2 separate regions of the Homo sapiens genome follow, and region 1 is linked to region 2. Evidence: promoter capture Hi-C in 16 types of primary human blood cells and fetal thymus (Javierre and others, 2016). All regions are on one chromosome and are shown on one strand. The core of a region is centred on a gene start or on the middle of the fragment in contact, and the rest is flanking DNA. Distances in the headings are between cores, read along the strand shown.

The links. The method cuts DNA at HindIII sites, captures the fragments that hold promoters and counts their contacts. A CHiCAGO score of 5 or more calls a contact.
Region 1: a contact is called between a fragment that was not itself captured here and the fragment with the promoter of RHOF in region 2, in 2 of 17 cell types (naive CD8 T cells and activated CD4 T cells). The highest score is 5.7, in naive CD8 T cells.

What each region holds. Positions count from the first base shown.
Region 1 is chr12:121,551,192-121,556,654 of GRCh38, reverse strand. The region is part of intron 4 of KDM2B (lysine demethylase 2B); the gene reads left to right. Among named protein-coding and RNA genes, the nearest start is that of KDM2B-DT, 27 kb to the left of the region's middle. The HindIII fragment of the contact is 5,533 bases long and covers 189-5,463 here.
Region 2 is chr12:121,790,117-121,795,967 of GRCh38, reverse strand. RHOF (ras homolog family member F, filopodia associated) reads left to right here and starts at 2,280. Exons shown (of 5, transcript NM_019034.3): 1 at 2,280-2,472; 2 at 2,729-2,816. The coding sequence starts at 2,335. It overlaps LINC01089 (long intergenic non-protein coding RNA 1089), which reads left to right. Exons shown (of 4, transcript NR_152740.1): 4 at 1-701. It also overlaps a transcript of SETD1B not described here. RefSeq lists enhancers at 286-455, 751-1,291, 1,836-1,885, 1,832-2,372, 2,378-3,209 and 2 more and a silencer at 2,366-2,905. The HindIII fragment of the contact is 6,952 bases long and covers 93-5,851 here.

The DNA.
Region 1 (5,463 bases), core at 1,706-4,205, 240 kb after region 2:
AGTCTCAAACTCTTGACCTCAAGTGATCCACTTGCCTCGGCCTCCCAAAGTGCTGGGATTACAGGCTTGAGCCATGGTGCCCAGCTGGGTTGGATTATTTATAAAGAAAGGTTTATTTGATTCAGCTCTGCAGGCTGTACAGGAAGCATGGAGCCAGCATCTGCTTCTGGTGAGGACTTCAGGAAGCTTCCAGTCATGATGGAAGGGGAGGGTGAGCTGGTGTGTCACATAGCCACAGAGGGAGCAAGAGAGAGAGGAGGGAGGTGCCAAATGCTTCTAAATAATCCAGCCTGTAGCCCCAGCTATTTGGGAGGCTGAGGTAGGAGGATCGCTTGAGCCCAGGAGTTTGAGGCTACAGTGAGCCATGTTCAAGCCACTGCACTCCAGCCTAATGAGCAGAGTGAGGCTTTGTCTCAAAAAACAAAAAACAGGCCGAGTGCAGTGGCTCACCCCTGTAATCCCAGCATTTTGGGAGGCTGAGGAGGGCAGATCACAATGTCAGGAGTTCAAGACCAGCCTGGCCAACATGGTGAAACCCCATCTCTACTAAAATACAAAAAATTAGCCAGGCGTGGTGGTGCGTTCTTGTAGTCCCAGCTACTCGGGAGGCTGAGGCAGGAGGATCTCTTGAACTTGGGAGGCAGAGGTTGCAGTGAGCCGAGATCGTGCCACTGTACTCCAGTGTAGGTGAGAGAGTGAGACTCCGTCTCAAAAAAAAAACAAAAAACAAAAAAAACAAAACAAAAACCCAATTCAGTCTCATGGGAACTAATAGAGTGGGAATTCACTCTTTATGCAAGGAGGGTACCAAGGCATTCGTGAAGGATCCACCCTCACGTCCCAAACACCACACACCAATTCCTACCTCTAACATTGGAGATATTTGAGAGATATTCATGTTTCAACATGAGATTTGAGATTTGGGGGGGAAAAATATCCAAACTATATCACTTACTTATTTATATTCTTATAAAAAATTTTGGCCAGGTGTGGTGGCTCACGCCTATAATCTCAGACATTTTGGGAGGCCTAGGTGGGCAGATGACTTGAGCCCAGGAGTTTGACACCAGCCTGGGCAATATGGCGAAACCCCGTCCCTACAAAAAATACAAATATTAGCCGGGTATGGTGGCCCACGCCTGTAATCCCAGCTACTTTGGTGGTTTAGGCACAAGAATTACTTGAACCAGGGAGGTGGAGGTTGCAGTGTGCTGAGATCGTGCCACTGCACTCTAGCCTGGGAGACAGAGCGAGACTCTGTCTCAAAAGAAAAAAATAAAATTACCCCAGACTAGTTATTCTTTCTTTTTTGATACTTTGACACTTGCAAAATAAATAACATTTTCAGGGTCTTAAGGTATAATTTTGTAAATTACTATATCCTCATAACTAAATGATATGATTAAACATTATTTTAAATTGGTATCCATTTTTTATAAAATAGGATTGCTATCTACTGTTTTTTAAAATTTTTTATTTTTTAAGATAGAGTCTCACTCTGTCACCTAGGCTGGAGTGCAGTGGCACAGCCATTGCTCACTGTAGCCTCTGCCTTCCAGGCTCAAGTGATCCTCCCAAGTAGCTGGGAATACTGGTGTCTGCCAACATGCACAGATAATTTTTAAATTTTTTGTAGAGATGGGGTCTTGACATGTTATCCAGGCTGGTCTTGAACTCCTGGGCTTAAGTGATCCTCCTGCTTCAGCTTCCCAAAGTGTTGGGGTTACAGGTGTGAGTCACCACACTCAGCCTACTCTTGCATTCATCAAATATTTGAGTGCTGCATGAATCCCAGATGCAGATGTTCTTTTGTTTTTTCTGGTCCACATTTGGACTAAGACTGAAAATCATAACTTGTGGATTAATACCTGTGTGCATGTGAGAGAGGTATATATACCTGGGATTAAATGAGAGTATAAAAGTGTTAATTTAAAGTATGTTACAGGCCGGGTGCGGTGGCTCACGCCTGTAATCCCAGCACTTTGGGAGGCTGAGGCAGGTGGATCACCTGAGGTCAGGAGTTCTAGACCAGCCTGGACAACATGGTAAAACCCCGTCTCTACTGAAAATACAAAAATTAGCTGGGCGTGGTGGCAGGCGCCTGTAATCCCAGCTACTCGGGGGGCTGAGGCAGGAGAATCGCTTGAACCTGGGAGGCAGAGGTTGCAGTGAGCCGAGATCGCGCCATCGCCATCGCACTCCAGCCTGGGGGACAAAAGAGAGACTTTGTCTCAAAAAAAAAAAAAAGTATGTTACAAAGGGCAAGTATCATGATATATACAAGGTATACATTTATTTGGAAACACTCCCAGATTACTTGCCATCTCTGAGACTCTCCATTTTAAAAAAGTAAAAAGTTTCATTGAAATATAAGTCACAGACCATACAATTCATTTCACCCCACTTTTTTTTTTTTTGAGACAGGATCTGGCTCTGTTGCCCAAGCTGGAGTGCAGTGGCACGATCATGGCTCACTGGAGCCTCAACCTCCTGACGCTCAAGCAGTCCTCCCACTTCAGCCTTCAGAGTAGCTGGGACCACCGGTGTGGGTCACCATGCTTGGCCAATTTGTGTGTGTGTGTGTGTGTGTGTGTGTGTGTGTGTGTGTGTGTGTGTGTGTGGAGCTGGGGTGTCACTATATTACCCAGGCTGATCTCAAACTTCTAGGGCCCAGCGCTCCTTCCAGCTCTGTCTCCCAAACTGTTGGGATTACAGGTGTGAGCCACCAGCCACCAAGGCCGGCCACAATTCACTTGTTTTCAGTATATTCACAGAGCTGTGCAACCATTATGAAAGTCCATTTTAGAACTTTTTCATCATTCCCCAGAAGAACCCCACACCCATTTGCATCTTGAATATGTTGTAGGGTCCTAAGCAGTCTGTTCACTGGGACTGGCCAGCAACGATTTAACTGGCTGTGATGCTGGGCAAGTCCCTAAACTTCCCAGCTCCTCACCTTCTCCACCTCTAGTTACAGATGAAACTGACCGACTCGGTAACGCTACCTACCTGTAGGTGCTCCAAGTGAGTGTGAAGTGCATGAACTCAGTTATGTCTCAGGACAGCTCCTGGGCTGGCTATTTGTTCCCCATGTTATAGATGAAGAAGAAACTGATTCCCAGAGAAGCCAAGAGCCCGAGGCACAGGCTGGAGGCTCCGCTGGGAACCGAACCCTCTAAATTTTAACAGTGTGTGGGTAGGGGTAGCTGAGCTTGGCCTTCAGTGCTGACTTGCAGGACTCTGGGTTCGTGATTTTAGTGCTCTTTATCCTATTTGCTACCTGCCCAGCAGACTCCTTTGCACAGGGAGCTTTGCAGACATGACCTTGAGCAAGATTAGGGAGGAGAAGTGGGTGGAGGTGGGAGGCTGGCCAGAGAGCGAGAGTGGGGAGGGTACCGGGGTTCTTTCTTTCTTTTTTTTTTTTGAGACAGAGTCTTGCTCTGTCGCCCAGGCTGTAGTGCAGTGGCGCGATCTCGGCTCGCTGCAACCCCGCCTCCCGGGTTCACGCCATTCTCCTGACTCAGCCTCCCAAGTAGCTGGGACTACAGGCGCCCGCCACCACACCCGGCGGATTTTTTGTATTTTTAGTATTCTCGGGGTTTCACCGTGTTAGCCAAGATGGTCTCAATCTCCTGACCTCATGATCTGCCCGCCTCAGCCTCCCAAAGTGCTGGGATTACAGGCGTGAGCCACCGTGCCCGGCTGGTACTGGGGTTCTGACAGCAGGGTTTCTGCCAGGTGGGCCTCCTGGAAAATCTGAGTGGCGCCCACGTATTCCAGGCACCTGGGTAAGGAAGGAGCTAGCCTTGCCAAGATCAAGGCCAGAATATCCAGCGAAGAACGGGGATGCCCCCTGGTGGATCTGCACTCCAGACGCCAAAACAAAAGCTGCTTTCCCCTGGATCCACTGCTTCCTAGGGTCCATGGGGAGGGACCTGGCCACTGCTGTGGTCTGGAATCTTTTTTTTTTTTTTTTTTAATTAAGACAGAGTCTCACCATGTCACCCAGGCTAGAGTGCAATGGCACGACCTCAGCTCACTGCAACCTCCACCTCCTGGGTTCAAGCAATTCTCCTACCTCAGCCTCCCAAGTAGCTGGGATTACAGACGTGTGCCACCATACTTGGCTAATTTTTGTATTTTTAGTAGAGATAGGGTTTTGCCATGTTGGCCAGGCTGGTCTTGAACTCCTGACCTCAGGTGATCCACCCATCTCGGCCTCCAAAAGTGCTGGGATTACAGGCATGAGCCACTGCACTTGGCCAGGTCTGGGGTCATGTTTCAACCTTAGCATACGATCAAGATTCAGTATTCGGGGGATGGGAGAGGAACCTGGGCTTAGGCATTAGAATGAATTGGATTCAAATACCACTCTGCCACTCACGAATTGGGCATTCCTGGGCGAGTTAGTTGTCCAAGTCTCAGCTTCTCCTCCATTAAATGGGTGTAATTGAAGTTCTGCTTCACAGAGCTGTGACCACGATGAACCTAACACAAGATAATATATGTAGAGAACCCGCCTGTGCTGACACACATAGTAAATGGTAATGGTTGTAATTGGTAGTAAGAGTCTACTCTGGGGAGCTTGAGCCAGTTGCTGTGTCTCTGGGCCTTGGTCTCCCCATTTGTAAAACAGACTGTCTCACCTTGCTTTTCCAGGTTGCTGTGAAATTTAGATCTTGAACCCAAAAGATAGAAATACCCAAGTTCTCTTACATACTTAAGGTGTTACTTTCTTTTTTTGTTTCCTTTTTGTGGAGAATGTGGTCTCCCAGCCTGGGCAACTTAATGAAACCCTGTCATGCTGGGCGCGGTGGCTCACACCTGTAATCCCAGCACTTTGGGAGGCTGAGGCGGGCGGATCACTTGAGGTCAGGAGTTCAAGACCAGCCTGGCCAATATGGCGAAACTCCATCTCTACTAAAAATACGAAAAAGAGCCGGGTGCGGTGGTGCACGCCCTTAATTCCAGCTGCTCGGGAGGCTGAGGCAGGAGAATCACTTGAACCCCGCAGGTGGAGGTTGCAGTAAGCTGAGATTGTGCCACTATACTCCAACCTGGGCGACAGAGCGAGACTTTGTCTCAAAAACCAACCAACCAAACAAAGAAAACCAAAACCCTGTCTCTACAAAAAATAAAAACCTGGTTGGATGTGGTGGTGCCGCCCTGTAGTCCCAGCTATTCAGGAGGCTGAGGCTGGAGGATCCCTCGAGCCAGGGAGGTTGAGGCTGCAGTGAGCCACGATCGTGCCATTGCTCTCCAGCCTGGGTGACAGAGCGAGACCCTGTCTCAAAAAAAAAAAAAAAAAAAGAATGGAATCTTGCTGTGTTCCCCAGGCTGGTCTCAAACTCCCAGGCTCAAGCACCATCCTCCCACCTCTGCTTTTCTAAGTGCTGGGATTACACAGAGTTACTTTTATTTTTCAGTTCCGACCACATGAAAGGCTATGTTTATTTATTCAAC
Region 2 (5,851 bases), core at 1,031-3,530:
ACTGGGGCCAGTATCAGCTGTTCTGCCTGGACCCAGGCCGGGCTGGGAAGGCACACTTGTGCTTATTTCCCGCCTCCACTTCTGTGCAAGCTTGTGCTGTCATAAGCAGAGATCACAGCCCCATTTCTTGGATGGAGAAAGTGGACACTGAGGTCTGAGGCTTTTGAGGACAGTCAGGAGCCCTCCTATGGGCTCCAGTGATGCACTCACCAGCTTCTGGTCCTCTTCTTCCACCTCTTAGAGTGCCTTGGCTCCCTCCTGTCGTCCTGGGGAACCTCGGCCCCAGCCCTGCCTCCCCAGCCAGTCACAGCTCCTCCCTGGTCACCCTGAGGGAGCTCAGGGCCCGGCTGGTAGCTGGGTTGCTCTGCTTCTGTCCCCCACTCCTGTGGAGCCTGGCAGGCAACTCCATGATCTGACCCCGGTTACCTTGACAGCCCTGCCTGGCCTCCCCTCTCATGGCCCAGCCACCCCAGAACCTGAAGAGGTTTTCTAGCTGCCGTGCATTTGCCAGGCTGGGTTACCCACCCTACTTTCCCTGCCTGCCCTCCAGTGCTGCCAGGCCTAGTGTGCCAGCCAGCGCTCAGCCTTCAGTAAAGGGTTCCCCTGCTTCCAACCTCCATTGCACTGCTTCCCCTAAGACTGTGACCTCCTGGAAGGCTGGAGCACAACTGCCTCTCAATAAACGTGTTGCAAAAAAGGAATGGATGAGTTGCTGTGCATTTGTCTAGGGGGTGCTTGACCCAGGAGATTACCCTTTGCCCAGTGCCTGAAGAGGGCGTCCACTGAGAACCTGGGGTGCCTCCCCGGCCTCCCCTTCCCAGCTCTGCTGTGGTCTTGGGATTCTGTGGGCGGTCGCTGCTGCCCTCTGGTGGTCAGACCGTGCCTTGCTTGCACTGTGAGAACCTTGACCATGGAACTGCCAGGTTGGCGGTTTTCCTCCACGAAGTGAGGTTTACATGACCCTTGCCGAGACCTTGAAAACTGGGAGTCTTCGGGGTGGGGTCGCCAGCAAAAAGATCCTGAGTCCTGCCAGCCCCTATCTGAGGAAACTACGAAGGCCACTTGCCCCCAACCATGCTGCTGTTGGGGGTTTTGTTAGAAATGGGCTCTTCCTACCCCAGCTGGTAGGATCCCACTCTCGGCCATGCTCTCGTGCCTGTCTGCCGTGGACCGGCTCCAGGGGGGGGTCCCTCTGCCACCCTGTCGACTCATCTGGGTGGTGCAGAGGGCAGTCAGCCCGCCCAGGGTGAGGAGTAAGAGGAGGGGTGGGGGTTACGGGTAATTCAGCCAGCAGCCCTGATAGCACTGCCTACAGTAAGTGCTCAACAAATAAGCTGTTTTGATCAGGGGATGGGAGAGTTGGGGGGATTCCTGGGATGAAGGACATGTGGCTGCTGGCAAGGAAACGCATTTTCTTACATTTCTTGGTGGGTGTGGGGTTATCAGTCTCCAAAGCTCCAGGAGAGGGACCAAGTTGACTTCAACTAGAGCTACTCCAACCTGCCCCTCCCTGACGACGTCTTGCGTGGTTCACGCCTCTGGCTCCTGCCGGAAGGAGGCGGCCGCCCCTAGTGGTTTCGGGCCAACCTGCGCCCGGAGCGGCCGGCGCCGAGGCGATTGCCCGGCAGAGGGCGTCAGACGTCCACCCTGCAGCCCAGGGTCGGGGTGCGGGTAAGCGGAGCCCAGTCCCTCACCCCGAACCCGCGTGCACGCTGGCGTCCCTGGCCCAGGCGAGGTGGGCAGACATGACTCTCGCGTCAGCATCTTCCCTGGTGCCACCGCCGCTACCTCCTGTGGGGAAGCTGAGGCCAGAGGCGGACATGTGCCAAGCCACACCGCTGGGGCAGTGCAAAGTTGAGGGGCTCTTCCCGGAGCTGGAGGCCGGGGGCTTCTCGAACCCGGTGCGGAGGCACAGCCAGCCAATCCGGGAGACCCTGTCTGGCCGCGCCAGCCAATCAGAGGGTCCCTGCCGAAGGCGGAGCCTGCTAATCAGGGGCACCTGGAGTCGCTGGGCAGCCACGATCGGGTCTCGCCGGCGAGGGGCGCGACGTGACGCGCGGAGGGTGGCGGTGGGTTGGGGGTGGGAGCTTTGCTCGCAGCTGAGCCCCGTTTTTCCGGTGCTGCAGTATCCCTGGGACTGAGAGCTGAATACCCACACCCAGGGCTGAGACCTTAGCAGAAAGGAAACTGAGGCTGGGAGGTCGGCCGGGAGGCTGCCTGGCGGAGGCGGCGCTGCTCCGAGTGGGCGGGGCTGGTTCCGGCCCCGCCCCGCCCCCGACCTCTTGGCTCCGCTAGTGCCCGGCGCGCCGCCGCCAGTGCTGCGGGCTCCGGGCAATGGATGCCCCCGGGGCCCTGGCCCAGACCGCCGCCCCCGGTCCGGGCAGGAAGGAGCTGAAGATCGTGATCGTGGGCGACGGCGGCTGCGGCAAGACCTCGCTGCTCATGGTGTACAGCCAGGGCTCCTTCCCCGAGGTGAGGCCCGCAGCGGGGCTGGGGTGGGGGCGAGGGACGCCCCTTACCCTGAGCCCAGAGCCCCGACCCTCAGTCCCCAGCGTCCCGAGCACGGACAGGCGGCCGCCACCCCGGGGCGCCCCCTCGGGAATTCCAGAGCCCAGCGGGGTGAGGGGGGGCTGATCCGGGACGAGTGAGGGGGGTGGACAGTGGATTCAGCTGGAACTTTGGCCCCCGCCGGCCCCACTAAGGACCAACCCGACCCCCTCTCCCGCAGCACTACGCCCCATCGGTGTTCGAGAAGTACACGGCCAGCGTGACCGTTGGCAGCAAGGAGGTGACCCTGAACCTCTACGACACGGCCGGTGAGTGCGCCTGCGCGCCGGGGGGCCCGAGGGTCCGCCCGCCCGAAGGGTTTCCCCTCCCGGGCGTCCCCCACTGGGTGTCCCCGCCCTGCAGCCTTGGCAGGGCCTTGGCCGGCTCTTCACTCCTGGAGGCCGCTCAGGGGCGCTGGCTGCGGGGCCCTAGAGGCCAAGCCCTATACGTAAGTGGAAGGTGTTTGGAGGAGGAGGTGAACTCTGGGGCCACCCTCCCAGCTCTGTGCTGAGAGCCCACAGCTCGTTCCTCTCCTGTGGTTCTAGAAAGCAGTGGGCTGCTCTTGGGCCTCCCATGGTTCCAGGATTGCTGCGCTACCTGCTGTGGTCTCTGCAGACTCTGTGAGCTGCAGATTTGAGTCCCTTGGTGCTCGGATTGCCTGGGCTGTGTGTCTGGGTCCTGTGGTTCTGGGATGCTCCCGGCTGCAGATCAGCCTGTGGCTCCAGGGCTCTGTGGCCTGCGCTCTGCAGCCTGAGGCTCTGGGGTCCTGTGGATGCGAGTTCTGTGTCTGCAGCTCCCAGGATTCCACGGCTTGCAGTTGGTGGTTCTGGAATTGCGTGGCTACAATTACTTCTGTGCTTTCCTAGTTCCCTGGGACAAAACCAGACAGTGTAGAAAATGAACTGAGGAAGGAACAGAGCACTGGGGGCAGGGGCCCCACACCAGGCTCTGCCTGCCACCTGCAGGCCCCCACGGGTGGTTTACGGATTTATGTGCAATTGCTTGGGAGTCGGTGTTGTGAGGGGTGGGGACAGGAGAAACAGTCAGTGGGAGGACCCTGACTCCCATCTGGGCTTCATCAACATTGGGGACCAAAGGTTGAGATCCCCAGGTGGGGCCTCACCCCACCTCTGTGACTCAGTGTTTAGTGACCTGCAGGGAACCACGTCATCCGGTGGCCCTCTCCGGCCAGCCAAGCCTTGTGTGTGTGAGGTGAGGTCAGACACTGACCTAGGATGGAGCCAAAATCCAGACACCTCCACCCCCACCTAGACCTTGGAGAGGACCCGAAAAGGGGCTGTCCTAGCTCAGAGCCCCCCTCCATTCCGACTTCAGCAGGTCCTATCGTGGCCTCTGAGGAACCTGTCTTTGTGGGATGTGGGCCCTGTAGGGCCAACCCCAAAACAGCGCCTGTCTCTAGCCCCTGGTGAGCTGGGAGAGCTGAGGCATCAGAGGAATTCCCGGGGCGTGGCCCGGGGGTAGTAAAAGTCATGGTCTGGGACACCTTTACTCTCATGTTTCCTGTGCAGTAGCCAGGGAGGGGCAAGGTCATTGACCCACTTTTTGAGTCAAGTGCTGCTGGGTGGAGACATTCACAGCAACCCACTGCCCTGCAAGAGGTCAGGAGGTTTTTTCTTTCCTCCTCCTCTGCCATCAGGGCCTCCCCTATCAGGTCCCGGGGTTCACTGTTCAGGGCAGCCTCCACATCATAAGAACAGGGATGGCCTTTCTGGCCTTGCCCAGAGAGAGATGCTCAAGGAACATGTCAGAGTAGATTGAGTTGTGGAGATTCTGGAAAGCTGCAAGTTGCTGTAGGAAGAATTTGTGCTAAGAGCTGCTACCAGAGGGATGGAGGAGCATCCCCTGCTACAGTCACCAGAAGCAGGCGACCACTGGCACCATGGGGATCCCATCCATGGTCCCATCCTGTTCCTGCCATCCTCTTTGGAGTCAGATCTGGGCTTTGACCCCAGCTCTATTGGCTACGTATCATTGGGGATGTCTGGGCCTCAGTTTCCTGATCTGTCATGAGCACTAAGAGGGTCATGAGGATTAAATCAGATTAATATATGATGTCCACCAGCCTGCCCAACATGGTGAAACCCCATCTCTACTAAAAATCCAAAAATTAGCTGGGTGTGGTGGTGGGCACCTGTAATCCCAGCTACTCGGGAGGCTGAGGCAGGAGAATCGTTTGAACCCGGGAGGCAGAGGTTGCAGTGAGCCGAGATTGTGCCATTGCAGTCCAGCCTGGGTGACAGGGCGAGACTACATCTCCCAGCACTTTGGGAGGCTGAGGCAGGAGGATTGCTTGAAGCCAGGAGTTCAAGACCAGCCTGGGCAACATGATGAAACCCCGTCTCTACTAAAAGTATAAAAATTAGCCAGGCGTGTTGGCACATACCTATAGTCCCAGCTACTCGGAAGGCTGAGGCAGGAGAATTGCTTGAACCCAGGAGGCGGAAATTGCAGTGAGTCAAGATCACGCTACTGCACTCCAGCCTGGGCAACAGAGCGAGACCCTGTTTCAAAAAATAAAAATTAAAAAAAATTAAAAAGATCCTCCTACCATCCCTGCCCAGCCCTAGCTCAAGCCTGTGCTTTGGAATCTACGGTGCCATGCCCCAAGCTGACCCCCAGACCCTGCTGCAGCGGGGAGATCTATCTTCCCTGGCAAGTCTCTTCCAAGCAGCAGAGAAGCAGGGCTCAGGGGAGGTGGCTAGCCTCACAGTCTGACAGACCCCAAGGAGGGGCACCCAGGGAGAAGAGATCTGGCTGCTCCCTGTAGGGTATCCCCCCGTGACCAGGGAAGGCTTGCTCATAGGAGGAAATCCCCTGGTCAGTGAGTGCCACCAGGGAGAGCCCAGGTCCCAGTGCTTGTCATGGAGCAAGGCCTGGAAGGTGATGGAATGAATGGGTAGTGGATCCGAATGCCGGAGATGATTCATCTCGGCCTGCAGGTGGACGGCTCTCAGGAGAACAGGACAGAAAGCCATGGCCAGGCGGCCACGTAGAGAGAGGCAAAGGCCAAGAGGGTGAGGGAATGGCCAAGCCAGAAATGAGTCTAGTAAACGTAGTTGTAGAAAGTTCTAGAACCCAATGGGCCACACACAGTGGCGGAAGGGGCATCTTCCCGACTGGTGGCCACCAGAGCTGTGAGACAGGGGTGGCTCTCAGAGGCTGAATTTCTCCACACCCAGGACCAAACGCTGGTCCTGGGCAGGGGCCGGACGCTGCCCACAGGGGCCCTCGTGGAAGGCCCGTGTGGCTGTCTCCCTCCTGAGGAAGTAGTTACAGACACCAC